Linked DNA regions of Homo sapiens: all the other regions are linked to region 3. Evidence: promoter capture Hi-C in human tissues and cell types (Jung and others, 2019). All regions are on one chromosome and are shown on one strand. The core of a region is centred on a gene start or on the middle of the fragment in contact, and the rest is flanking DNA. Distances in the headings are between cores, read along the strand shown.

Region 1 (2,700 bases), core at 104-2,603, 930 kb after region 3:
GGGTGATTGTGACATATTGCTGGACCCAGCACCTAGGTGATGTGGCTCTCCTTTTTTTCTGGGCCTCACATATTTTGGGTATTGTGATGTATAGCTGGGCTCAACACCTAGCAGTTGGGGAGCTCCTTTCTTGACCATTCCCACAAATGACATATCTCTGCTATGACCGCCTATGACACATGACCTAAATATGTGACCCTTCTTTTCTGCCTGTACCCTGCTAACAGAGAAGATTGTGACAAATTGCTAAGTGCATTGTATCTTGTGCTAACCTTCTATCTCAGCCTGTGACCAAGAATGCCTAACTGCCGGGGAATGCAGCCCTGTAGGTCTCAACCTCAATTTGCCCAGCCACTATTCAAAATAGAGTCACTCTGGTTTAAATGCCTCTGACATTAAGATACACTGTAAAATTATGAAAAAAGTTGATTTGAATTTTAGCAAATGAGAAATGAAATAATTAGAATGGGCTATTCTGAAAGATATAGCATTAGTTATATTTGTGTTTGAGTTTTCTATTAACCTATATTTGTTACTTATGAATAGATACCTTGTTTTATTCTGTCTAAACAGATACACTAGGTGGGGTGCGGTGGCCATGCCTGTAATCCCAGCACTTTGGGAGGCCGAGGGGAGTGGATCACCTGAGGTCAGGAATTTGGGACAAGCCTGACCAACATGGCAAAACCCTGTCTCTACTAAAAATACAAAAATCAGCTGACCATGGTGGCGGGTGCCTGTAATCCCAGCTACTTCAGAGGCTGAGGCAGGAGAATTGCTTGAACCCGAGAGGTGGAGGTTGCAGTGAGCCAAGATCATGCCACTGCATTCCACCCTGGGTGACAGAGCGAGACTCTGTCTCAAAAAATAAGAAAAAATAAGCGGCCGGGCATGCTGGCTCACGCCTGTAATCCCAACACTTTGGGAGGCCGAGGAGGGTGGATCGCAAGGTCAGGAGTTCAAGACCAGCCTGGCCAAGATGGTGAAACCCTGTCTCTACTAAAAATACAAAAATTAGCCACGTGTGTTGGCAGGTGCCTGTAATCCCAGCTACTCGGGAGGCTGAGGCAGAGAATTGCTTGAACCCAGGAGGCAGAGTTTGCAGTGAGCCGAGATCTCACCATTGCACTCCAGCCTGGGTGACAGAGGGAGATTCTGTCTCAAAAAAAAAAAAAGGACATAAATTTAATGTTAAGTGTGGACTCATAAAGAATCTAGACAGCCACCAAGCCATTTGTTTATTCTTGATTTCTTAAAGCTTCCATTATTAAAAGCTCTGCATTCCATTACTCATCACAGAAAATAATCTAAATTAAATATGAATTAAGTTTGTGTGTGTGTGTGTGTGTGTGTGTGTGTGTGTGTGTGTGTGTGGTGATTATTCTAAATTACTAAACAGATTAAGGCCAATTTTTTTATGTCAAACATATAATTCTGAGAAACAATCAATACTTTATGTACATTTCTGTTACCTAATAGGCTATTTAAGCATTTATACAGAAATTTTATACAGTTGTCATTTTTAATGCATGTTTTCTGATAGTATAAAAGCTTTCTCATGCAAGAAGGCTGATGTTATAATAGTAGCTAAAAGAATATTAGAAAATATGTTTTTTTTTCATGGGACATTTCTGAAAGGTCTCTAATGATCAAGATACTTATTTCACTAGACAAGTTGTAAAACTGTTAAATAAGGTATTGTTCCTGGACCAAACTGAGAGTTGGGCTGCTATTTCTCATGGCCCAATAACGAGATGCAGATGAACTGGGGAGGAAGAGAGTTTTATTTCTGCAACCAGTTACAGGGAGAAGGCCTGGAAATTATCACCAGACCAACTCAAAATTACAACGTTTTCCAGAGCCTATATACCTTCTAAGCTATATGTCTACATGTAAGTGTGCATTCATCTAAAGAGATAAGTGATTAACTTCTTTTATTTAATCTGTAACTAAGGTCTGAGTCTTGAAGACCTTCCCCTGCAGCCTCAGTAAATTTACTTAATCTAAATGGGTCCAGGTGCTGGGGTAATTACCCTTATCTTGTCTCCTGCTAAATCACAGTGGTTTGGTGAATTCCTTCAGACCTCCAATAAACCTGTTTGTAGAGGCCTGGGGAATTTCTTCAGACCCCCAATAAAACTTGTTTAATCCTATAAGGCCCAAGAAAGGCCTAGGCGAAACTCTTGATGGGCTTTTGTTACATCCCAGCCTTTGTATAAGGTCACTGGCTTTTTTTTTTTTTTTAATTGAGACGGGGTCTCACTCTGTCACCAGGCTGGAGTGCAGCTGTACAATCTCAGCTCACTGCAAACTCCGCCTCCAGGGTTCAAGCCATCCTTCTGCCTCAGCCTCCCAAATAGTTGGGACTACAGGCACATGCCACCACGCCCAGCTAATTTTTTTGTATTTTTAGTAGAGACGGGGTTTCACCATGTTGGCCAGGATGGTATCGATCTCTTGACCTTGTGATCCGCCTGCCTCGGCCTCCCAAGGTGCTGGGATTATAGGTGTGAGCCACTGCGCCCGGCTGGTCACTGGCTTTTAATATTTAACTTAACCACTCAGTCAGTACTGAAACAGTTGTTAGTGAGGTCTGGCCTGCCACAGTATTACAGGTACAATAGTATTGAGCAAAGCTAACTAAATTGACTGGATTGCTTTTGTAATTGCAGATTGATGACAATCAGATTCACTTAGAGT
Region 2 (2,700 bases), core at 156-2,655, 790 kb after region 3:
CCACTATCTGTTCCAACCTCAGAACTGAAGATAGATGTTAGTAGGGAGAGGCCCTTCCTTCCCCTCTGGCCCTTCACACCATTGACATCAGAGCTGCCATGTGTGGCTCCTGGGTGCCTGGAATGTGCTTGGTCTGAACCGCGATATGCTAGAAAGGTAAAACACAGAGTTATTTTCAAAAATTTAGTTGCAAATATTTATATACTTCATTAATAATTACATATTCCTCACACATTAAAATGATATTTTGTATATATTAGGTTAATTACATTGTTACAATCAATTCAACCTGTTCCTTGTTATTGTTGTTGTTGTTGTTGCTGTTGTTGCAGTCTGTCACTAGGCTGGAGTGCAGTGGCGCAATCTCGGCTCACTGCAACCTCTGCCTCCCGGGTTCAAGCGATTCTCCTGCCTCAGCCTCCCCAGTAGCTGGGATTACAGGCATGCGCCACCACGCCTGGCTAATTTTTATATTTTTTTCAGTAGAGACAGGGTTTAGCCATATTGCCAGGAGGGTCTCAATCACTTGATCTCGTGATCCACCAGCCTCGGCCTCCCAAAGTGCTGGGATTACAGGCGTGAGCCACTGCGCGTGGCCTCTTGTTTCTTTATATTTTTCACCCCCCAAAACGGAGTCTCGCTCTGTCCGCCCAGGCTGGAGTGCAGTGGCGCGATCTCTGCTCACTGCAACCTCCTCCGCCTCCCGGGTTCAAGCAATTCTCCTGCCTCAGCCTCCTGCGTAGCTGGGATTACAGATGTCCACCACCACGCCCGGCTAATTTTTGTATTTTTAGTAGAGACGTGGTTTCACCATGTTAGCCAGGCTGGTCTCAAACTCCTGACCTCTTGATCTGCCCGCCTTGTACTCCTAAAGTCCTAGGATTACAGGCGTGAGCCACCATGCCTGGCCCCTTGTTTCTTTTTAATTTTCTAGTTTGGCTACCAGAAAATTCAAAATTCACGTGGCTCACATTTTATTTCAGAGGATTACCTCCTTTTTAAAATCTCAGGCTGCCTGCTCAAAGGACCGTAAGCCAGGAAAGTAAAAAAACCCTGAAATTTTAAAACATTTGTTATTATATCCTTTTCATTTATGTATAGCCATATGATATAGTATTTACAAATGCATATGACCTTATACGCAAGGTTGAATGCAAATACCCTTTGGGGTGGGCCTATCTCAGCTCAAGGAGGAAGCCCTGCCTGAAAAGGCTGCAGCCTAGGCGGTCACTCTTTCTTCATTCAGCCCAGCATCTAATTACATCTTCTGTCAGTCAGGGCCTGAGAGGGTGGGGTTTTAAACGTTATCCAATCAGCGACGCTGGGCTGGGAACTGTCCAATCAGGCACGCAGCTTGAGCGGAGAGGACGGCTTCCGGGATGTGGCGGGATTTGTCCGCTTCTTTGTCTTTGGCTGCCGCTGGAACTCCGGGTCTCGTCTTCACTGCTCTGTGTCCTCTGCTCCTAGAGGCCCAGCCTCTGGTCCTGTGACCTGCAGGTATTGGGAATCCACAGCTAAGACGCCGGGACACCCTGGAAGCCTAGAAATGGTGAGAGTGCGGGGTCCAACATCCCGAGAGAGGGGAAGGGCTGGTTGGAACCGGTGGGAAGTGGCTGTGGCGAGACTCAGGCCTCCCCGCAGTCAGCTCTACAATCTGCGCCCCGAGTTCTCCTTGCCCAGCTCGGCCTCAGTCGCCTTCAGCCATAAGATGGCGGTTGCGCCGACAGCCCGGCCCCCGGGCGTCCTGTCTCTTCCCTGCATAGTGACTGTGCCCTTGCCTGGAGCCCTCTCTGGGGAATCTCTGCACCCGCAGCGCCGCTTCTCTACCGGATTGTGCAGGGACCGTGGGAGGGTCGTCAGGGGAGAATCCTGACTTGGGGTGCGGGTTCATGAATGGGAAGAGGTTTGTTCCGTGGGGTTCCCAGTTCCTATTATCTCCTATTAAAAGTTAATGGGAGTCACTGCAAAAATATTAAAAGAATTTAATCAAAGAGTGGTTCTAGGCTGGGCGCGGTGGCTCACGCCTGTAATCCCAGCACTTTGGAAGGCCGAGGTGGGCGGATCAGAGGTCAGGAGATCAAGACCATCCTGGCTAACACGGTGAAACCCCGTCTCTACTAAAAATACAAAAAATGAGCCGGGCGTGGTGGCGGGCGCCTGTAGTCCCAGCTACTCAGGAGGCTGAGGCAGGAGAATGGCGTGAACCCAGGAGGCAGAGCTTGCAGTGAGCCGAGATCGTGCCACTGCACTCCAGCCTGGGCGACAGAGCGAGACTCTTGTCTCAAAAAAAAAATTAACTTATTAAATAATTTAATCAAAAAGTGGTTCTAGAATTGTAGAGCACCAAGCTGTGGTTTTTAGTTTGTGGTCTATGGGAGAGGCTTGAAAGAAAGTCTTTTGTAAAATGCATGATGAAGAAAACCAAATTTAGTAATTGGTTAGGTACAGTTACGTGGTTTTTTAATTTGTACATTAAAGGTGAAAATTTCCTGGTTATGTAATCGGAGCTCAATTGGCAGTTTATAGTAGGTGAAGCCTCAATTTTGTTTCTCTGAATTTAGTAATTAAAAATAATGCGCCTGAGTTAGATTTTTTAAATTGAAGTAGGAACCCAGGGACTAGAGAAACCTCAGTCTAATTGCCTGCCACTTAATTATTTTCACACTCCACAGGGAACTGATTTTCTGCTGCATTTTTCAC
Region 3 (2,700 bases), core at 190-2,689:
GACGAATCTATGTAACTCATCAATTATCTACCACATTTTCCTGTGGAAATATATTCATTGTCTACAGCCAAAATGGAAGAGAGATTTTCCCTATTTTTTTCCTTGGTAACTAGCATTCCTGGCTAACATACTGAAACTCCATCTCTACTAAAAATACAAAAATTAGCTGGGCGTGGTGTCGCGTGCCCATAGCCCCAACTACTCCAGAGGCTGAAGCAGAAGAATGCTTGAACCTGAGAGGCGGAGGTTGCAGTGAGCCGAGATCTGACACTGCACTCCAGCTCTGGCGACAGAGCGAGACTCCGTCTCAAAAAAAAAAAAATAAAAATAATAAATTGAGGAACATGGGGTACACTTGAGGCCTTGCTTGAGACACATGTGGAAAATGCCAGGGAAAATCAGTCCGCTGTGGCGTGTGAAAATAATTAAGTGGCAGGCAATTAGACTGAAGAAGCTCTAGTCCCTGGATTTCTACCTCAAAAAAAAAAAAATCTAAGCTCATGTGCATTTTTTGGGAAATTACTACATTAGGGGAAACAAAATTCAGGCTTAAGCAACTATAAACTGCCAATTAAACTGTAATTACATAACCAGGAATTTTTTTTTTTTTTTTGAGACGGAGTCTCACTGTCGCGCAGGCTGGAGTGCAGTGGCAAGATCTCAGCTCACTGCAACATCCACCTCCGGAGTTCAAGCGATTCTCTCACTTCTGCCTCCCGAGAAGCTGTGATTACAGACATCTGTCATCACACCCAGCTAATTTTTGCATTTTTAGTAGACATGGGGTTTCCCCATTTGGGCCAGGCTTATCTTGAAGTCCTGACCTCAAGTTATCCGCCTGCCTCGGCCTCCCAAAGTGCTGGGATTACAGGCGTGAACGACTGCGCCCGGCCCCATAAATTTTGAATAGCAGAAAACAGAAACTGTGAACTCCACGGACCAAAGCTCTTCCCATTCATGAACCTGCACCCCGAGTCAGGATTCTCCCCTGACGACCCTCTGGTGGTCCCTGCACATTCTGGGAGAGACGGGAGGCTGCGGTTGCAGAGCTGCCCACGGAGCGCTCCAGGCCAGAGCAGTCACTACGCAGGGAAGACACAGGACGCCAGGGGGCCCGGCTGTCAGCGTAGCCGCCAAATTATGGCTGAACGGGACTGAGGCCGAGCTGGGCAAGGAGAACTCAGGGTGCAGATTGTGGAGCTGACTGCGCAGAGGCCTGAGTCCCGCCACAGCCACTTCCCACCGGTTCCAACCAGCCTATCCCCCTCTCTCGGGATGTCGGACCGGCACTCTCACCATTTCTAGGCTTCCAGGGGCTCCCGGGCGTCTTAGCTGTGGATCTCCCAATACCTGCAGGACACAGGGCCACAGAGGCTGGGCCTCTAGGAGCAGAGGACACACAGCAGTGAAGACAAGACCTGGAGCTCCGGCTGCAGAGACAAAGGCCCCGCAAAACCCGGAAGCCTTCCGCTTCACTCTGGCTGCGTGCCTGATTGGACGGCTTCCAGCCCAGCGTCCCTGATTGGATAATGCTTAAATCCCCGCCCCCTCAGGCCCTGAGTGACAGAAGATATGATCAGATGCTGGGTTAAGTGAACAAAGAGTGCCAGCCTAAGCAGCTGGCTTTTCAAACAGTGCTTCCTCCCTGAGCTGAGCCAGGCCCACCCCAGAGCATGGGAATATTTTATCTCTTGTTTACTCTCTTTCTTGTTGAATGTATTAAAAAGGTGAACAGAAGTATTTTGCTGTCATTAATAATACATAAAATTTTTGTTCAACAGAAAATCAACTTTTACTTTGGTAATGGTAAAATCTATTAAAGCTAATTTTAATAAAACCTTATAAATAAATCAAATTTGTCATTTTTGAGCACTCCAGATTTACATATATATTTTGTAATATCTCGTAATTTTAAAAAACTATTTATATTTTATTTTTGTCCACATTCTTTTTATTTTTTCAATTTGAAACAATCTTTAATTTCCAACAGCTATAGGAGATAGAAATCATTTAGAGGCAGGCACGGATAGTTCACGCTGGTAATTCCAACACTTTGGGAGGCCAAGGTGAGCAGATCACTTGAGGTCAGGAGTTCAAGACAAGCCTAGCCAACATGGTGAAACCCCATCTCTAATAATAACTAATAAATAATAATAATAACTAATAATATAAAAAGTTACCTGGGTGTGGGGGTGCACATCTGTAGTCCCAGCTACACCGGAGGCTGAGGCAGGAGAATCACTTGAAGCCAGGAGGCGGAGGTTGTGTAACAGCCCAAGGGGTTTATTTTACCCTTTGCCTAGACAGAGCCGATTCATCAAGACAGGGGAATTTGTGGAGGAAAAGTCACATATTAAATCTGAACTCAATTGAATGTGGACACAAACAATTGTCACCAAGTCCCAGAACAGGTTGTGTGAGCCCCTGAGGTGTTCATCCAGCGCTGTATTGAAGAAATCTCTATTTCAATCTATTCCTATATATTAGTTGTTGAAAAACAATAGACAATCACAAAAAAAGGTTGACCTTTTTGTGTTCCTTGAGGCAAGTCGTGAAGGGCTCTCATCACTGGGCCTTATGCCAAACAACTCGTTACAAAAGAGCTAAGGTCCCAGACCGCCCTGAAGCTTCATAAGACCTCTCCTTGTCTGTGTACGATGGACGGGTGGCTGACTCTAGAGCTGTGGCTGTTGCCTCCCT
Region 4 (2,700 bases), core at 163-2,662, 830 kb after region 3:
GCTACTGGGTGCCTGGAATGTCGCTGCAATTTGCTAGAAAGGTAAAATACAGAGTTAGTTTCAAAGATACAGTTCCAAATATATATATACTTCATTAATCTTTACATATTGCTCACATATTACAATGATAATATTTTGGATATATTGGGTTAATTAAATTGTTACAATGAATTTCACCTGTTTCTTCTCCTTCTTTTTAAAATTTTTTTATTTTTGAGATGGAGTCTTGCTCTGTTTCCCAGACTGGAGTGCAATGGCGTGATCTTGGCTCACCTCAACCTCTGCCTCCTGGGTTTAAGTGATTCTCCTGCCTCAGCCTCTCTATTAGCTGGGATTACAGGCACCTGCCATCATACCCAGATAATTTTTGTATTTTTGTAGAGACGGGGTTTCACCATGTTGGCTAGGCTGGTCTTGCACTCCTGACCTCGGGTGATCCGCCTGCCTCGGCCTCCCCAAGTGCTGAGATAACAGGCATGGGACACTACACCCGGCTTTCTTTTCTTTCACTTTTATTTTCTTTCTTCTCTTCTCTTCACTTTTCTTTCTTCTTTTTCCTTCCTTCCTTTTCCTTCCTTCCCTCTTTCCTTCTCTCTCTCTCTCTTTCACTCTTTCTTTCTCTCTCTCTCTTTCTCTCTTCTTTTTTTTTCTTGAGATGGAGTTTCACTCTTGTTGACCAGGCTGGAGTGTGCAGTGGGGCGATCTCGGCTCACTGCAACCTCTGCCTCCCTCCACCTCCCGGGTTCAAGCGATTATTTTGCCTCAGCCTCCCGAGTAGCTGGGATAACAGGCGCCCACCACCACGCCTGGTTATTTTTTCTTATTTTTAGTAGGGACGGGGTTTCATCATGTTGGCCAGGCTGGTCTCAAACTCCTGACCTCAGGCGATCCACCCGCCTCGGCCTCCCAAAGTGCTGGGATTACAGGCGTGAGCCACTGCGCCCGGCCCTTCTTTATTTTTAAAGTCTGGCTACTAGAAAATTTAAAATTCACATGTGGCTCACATCTTATTTCATAAGATTGGCTCCTTTTAAAAATCTCAGGCTGCTAGTTCAAAGGACTAGGAGCCAGGAAGGTCATAAAAGCTGAAATTTTAAAATAATTATTTTTTTAAATTTGTGAATAGCCATATATTATTTATAAGTGCTTATGACCTTATACACAAGGTTAAGGGAAAATACCCTCTAAGGTGTGCCTGGCTCAGCTCAGGGAGGAAGCCCTGCCTGAAAAGGCTGCAGCCTAGGCTATCACTCTTTCTTCACTCCGCCCAGCATTTGGTCATATCTTCTGTCACTCAGGGCCTGAAGGGGCGGGCCCTTAAACCGTATCCAATCAGACACGCAGAACTGGGAACCGTCCAATTAGGCACACATTTGGAGCGGCGAGGACGGCTTCCGGGATGTGGCTGGGCCATTGTTTCTCTCTGCTGCCGGAGCTCCAGGTCTACCCTTCACTGCTCTGTGTCCTCAGCGTGTGTGGCTTCGTGACCTGAAGATACTGGGAAATCCATAGCTAAGATGCCAGGACCCCCTGAAAGCCTAGACATGGTGAGAGTGCTGGGTCCGACATCACGAGAGAGGGGAAGGAGTTGCTCGGAACCGGTGGGAAGTGGCTGTGGCGGGACTCAGGCCTCCCCGCAGTCAGCTCCACAATCTGCTCCCTGAGTTCTCCTTGCCCAGCTCGGCCTCAGTCTCCTTCAGCCGTAAGTTGGCGGCTGCGCCAACAGCCGGGGCCCCGGGCGTCCTGTCTCTTCCCTGCACTGTGACTGTGCCCTGCCTGGAGTCCTCTCTGGCAGTTCTGCACCCGCAGCGCCGCGTCTTTCTCAGATTGTGCGGGGACCACGGGAGGGTCATCAGGGGAGAATCCTGACTTGGGGTGCGGGTTCATGAATGGGAAGAGCTTTGGTCCGTGGGGTTCCCAGTTGCTATTTTCTCCTATTAAAAATTTATGGGCGTCACTGCAAAAATATTAAAGAATGTAATCAAAGAGTGGTTCTAGAATTGTAGAGCACCCAGCTATGGTTTGTAGTTTGTGGTCTGTGGGAGAGGCTTGAAGGAAAGTCTTTTATAAAATGCATGATGAAGAAACCAAATTTACTAATTGGTTAGGTACAGTTACATGGTTTCTTAATATGTGCGTTAAAGGTGAAAATTTCCTGGTTATGTAATCAGAGCTTAATTGGCAGTTTACAGTTGCTGAAGCCTGAATTTTGTTTCTCTGAATGTAGTAATTAAAAATAATGCACCTGAGTTAGATTTTTTTTTTAAAGTAAGAATTCAGGGACTAGAAATACCTCAGTCTAATTGCCTGCCACTTAATTATTTTCACACTCCACAGGGAACTGATTTTCTGCTGTATTTTTCACCTGTGTCCCAAGCAGAGTCTTGGAACCAATCCCCCATTTCTCCGGCCTCACTCTGGCTTGCAGTAAGATAATTTCCAGTTTCCTCTGACGTTCCTAAATGCCACCTTTTCCTCCCTAATTCACATTATCGCCTATTTGTCTTTTACTGTACTTTTTTATACCATATTTTAATTATTTTTTTGGCAAAGCATTAAATGGTTAAATGGTGCATTTAAAGAGATTTGTTATCTGTTTGTAAATATTTCCCATGAAAAGAAGGCAAATAATAATACCCTGACACTGCATTGTAGTAAATCTCTGTCTCTTTTGCTTTCATCTTGTCTAGGCACAGAGAT
Region 5 (2,700 bases), core at 47-2,546, 560 kb after region 3:
TATTTAGGTGCACTGGCCTAGTCGGATTAACATCCAAAGGACTGAGCCCTGAACAAAGAGTTAAGTTACCCTTTAAGCATTTTGTGGGATGGCAGGGGGAGATCTGTGCAGGGAGAAGCATATTACAGAAGCGAGAAACAAAGACAGTTATTCAATTAATTGTGACATGCATTACATAATTTTTTACTTTCCAAGGAAAAACATGTTTTACAACTTGAGTTTATCTATCTAGTGACCTTGCAGCTGCACAGCTAGAGAAACAGGGTCTTCAAAATGCCTGGGAAAGGAGGAGAGATAAGCCTTGCTAGCCACAGAAAAACAGGCCGTTAATTTTTAAAGGACTCCAGCTCTTTCTCTTTCTCAGGAGGAATTGGGTTTTCTTACATACAACTGAGTTTCTGCTTACACATTCTTTAATTTCTTTTAATTTCTGTTCCAATACTATTTTTTTGGTCACAAATTTTTCACTTTTTTTTTTTCTTTCTTTGAAACGGATCTCACTCTGTTGCCCAGGCTGGAGTGCAGTGGCGTGATCTTGGCTCACTGCAAGCTCTGCCTCCCAGATTCACACCATTCTCCTGCCTCAGCCTCCTGAGTAGCTGGGACTGCAGGTGCCCACCACCACACCTGGCTAATTTTTTGTATTTTTAGTAGAGACTGGGTTTCACTGTGTTAGCCAGGATGGTCTCAATCTCCTGACCTCGTGCTCTGCCTGCCTTGGCCTCCCGAAGTGCTGGGATTACAGGCATGAGCCACCGCATCTGGCCCAATTTTTTTACTCTTTTTCTTTTACTATATTTATTTCACTATTCTTCTGCCCCCTTACATAATTTCTATCCAGGGGGTAGAAATTATGTCTGTGTTTTCCCCTCATTATCAGCATCTGATTGGCTGACCAGCAATTTGTCTCCAAGAAATGAAAGCTGGGTTAGGTGAAGGCAATTTTAACAGCTTTTCAAAGTTAGAGTACACCAGAAGATTCCTCTTAGCCCCAGGGTATCCACTTGCTCCCTAGAAAGGATACACTCCATACTTCAGGTCATCCTAAGGGAGAAAATAAACCAGAAGCTGATATCCACCGGACATTCAAGCTGACATAAGCATGGCAGATATCTCGGTTTATCCCCAGATAGTACTAAGCCCAGGACCAGCAAAAAACTAAAGGGTGGCTGAGGACACATCACCCCATAAATTTTCCAAAGCAGAACTTTGACCCAAAAACATTCTGATAAGATCTCTGTGCCTAGAGAAGATAAAACGAAAAGAGACACAGAGATTTTCTACAATACAACATCGGGGGATTATTATTTGCTTTCTCCTCATGGGAAATATTTACAAACAGTTAATACAACTTCTTAAAAGCACCATTTAATGTTTTACCAAAAAATAATTAATTAAAATATGATATAAAAAAAGTACACTAAAAGACAAAGAAGTGATAATGTGAATTAGGAAGGAAAAGTTGGCATTTAGGAATGCCAGAAGAACCTGGAAATTTAGTATCTTACTGCAAGCCACAGTGAGGCTGGAGATATGGGGCATGGGAGTTTAGACTTAAAAACCCTGCTTGGGACACAGGTGAAAAATGCAGCAGAAAATCAGTTCCCCGTGCTGTGTGAAAATAATTAAGTGGCAGGCAATTAGACTGAGGTGTCTCTAGTCCCTGGGTTCATACTTTAAAAAAAACTAACTCAGGTGCATTATTTTTAATTACTACATTCAGAGAAACAAAATTCAGGCTTCACCAACTATAAACTGCCCATTAAGCTCTGATTACATAACCAGGAAATTTTCACCTTTAATCTATTGAAGTAGGAACTTAAGAAAATAACAGAATAATAGCATAAGTAATAATAGTAAAGATTATAGTAATAGAGAAATAACAATAGCTCATAGAATGAATTGCTGTATTAACCAAGGCTAACAAGAATTTAAGTAGCCCCCCTGAAGTTAGAAGAGAATATTAACTGTCTGTCCCAGGAAACATTAACCATATCTACCTTCCACATATTTTGTAGGCTCTGTAAACTCTTGTTTCTTTCTTCCTTGCACAGCTGCAAGGTCACAAGACAGATAAGCATAAGCTGCAAACTAAGTTTTCCCAGAGATGTAAGACATGTTGCAAAAGTGTCACAGCAGCCTTTGTTCTCATTTCTGTAAGCCTGCTTCCTGCTTCACACAGTGCCCACCTCAAAATGCTTAAAGGGGACTCATTTTCTTTGCTCTGGGCTCAGAGTTTCAGGACATGTGTCCGCTGTGCCAGTGTACACCTTAAATAAACACTTTCCTTCACTCCATTTCGTCTCTCCAGTTCCTTACTTTCCCACAACAGTACAAATTAAGAAACCACGTAATTGTACCTAACCAATTACTAAATTTGGTTTTCTTCATTATGCATTTTACAAAATGTCAAGCGCATCCAGGTGAAGAGACCACCAAACAGGATTTGTGTGAGCAACAAGCCTGTTTATTCACTTGGGTGCAAGTGGGCTAAGTCCAGAAAGAGAGTCAGCAAAGGGAGATAGGAGCGGGGCAGCTTTATCGGGAACAAGTCATAATGGTAGAATGTCATAAGGTGGGTTAACTAGTTAAGGCAGGAACTGGCTGTTCCACTTCTTTGTGATTTTTTGGCTGCTCCAGACTTCTTGGCTCCTGCAGGCCATCTGGACATATATGTGCAGGTCACAGGGGTTATAATGG

Evidence for each region. The method cuts DNA at HindIII sites, captures the fragments that hold promoters and counts their contacts. A contact is called where the count stands out against the background at its distance.
Region 1: a contact is called between a fragment that was not itself captured here and the fragment with the promoter of ZNF737 in region 3, in 1 of the 25 tissues and cell types used here (dorsolateral prefrontal cortex).
Region 2: the fragment with the promoter of ZNF738 here is called in contact with the fragment with the promoter of ZNF737 in region 3 in 1 of the 25 tissues and cell types used here (small bowel).
Region 4: a contact is called between the fragment with the promoter of ZNF493 here and the fragment with the promoter of ZNF737 in region 3, in 1 of the 25 tissues and cell types used here (spleen).
Region 5: a contact is called between a fragment that was not itself captured here and the fragment with the promoter of ZNF737 in region 3, in 1 of the 25 tissues and cell types used here (adrenal gland).

What each region holds. Positions count from the first base shown.
Region 1 is chr19:21,498,599-21,501,298 of GRCh38, forward strand. It overlaps LINC00664 (long intergenic non-protein coding RNA 664), which reads left to right. Exons shown (of 11, transcript NR_037194.1): 11 at 2,673-2,700. Among named protein-coding and RNA genes, the nearest start is that of ZNF429, 5.7 kb to the right of the region's middle. The HindIII fragment of the contact is 3,356 bases long and covers 1-2,700 here.
Region 2 is chr19:21,357,595-21,360,294 of GRCh38, forward strand. ZNF738 (zinc finger protein 738) reads left to right here and starts at 1,406. Exons shown (of 5, transcript NM_001355237.2): 1 at 1,406-1,549. The coding sequence starts at 1,547. RefSeq lists enhancers at 119-676, 1,468-1,767. The HindIII fragment of the contact is 7,981 bases long and covers 1-2,700 here.
Region 3 is chr19:20,564,342-20,567,041 of GRCh38, forward strand. It overlaps ZNF737 (zinc finger protein 737), which reads right to left and starts at 1,440. Exons shown (of 4, transcript NM_001159293.2): 1 at 1,297-1,440. The coding sequence starts at 1,299. The region is part of intron 2 of LOC105372316 (a long non-coding RNA gene); the gene reads left to right. RefSeq lists enhancers at 873-1,032, 1,243-1,292. The HindIII fragment of the contact is 4,540 bases long and covers 1-2,700 here.
Region 4 is chr19:21,395,721-21,398,420 of GRCh38, forward strand. It overlaps ZNF493 (zinc finger protein 493), which reads left to right and starts at 1,413. Exons shown (of 4, transcript NM_001076678.3): 1 at 1,413-1,547. The coding sequence starts at 1,518. RefSeq lists a silencer at 1,452-1,690. The HindIII fragment of the contact is 12,821 bases long and covers 1-2,700 here.
Region 5 is chr19:21,126,941-21,129,640 of GRCh38, forward strand. No RefSeq gene overlaps it. Among named protein-coding and RNA genes, the nearest start is that of ZNF431, 14 kb to the right of the region's middle. RefSeq lists a cis regulatory region at 1,878-2,209. The HindIII fragment of the contact is 5,563 bases long and covers 1-2,700 here.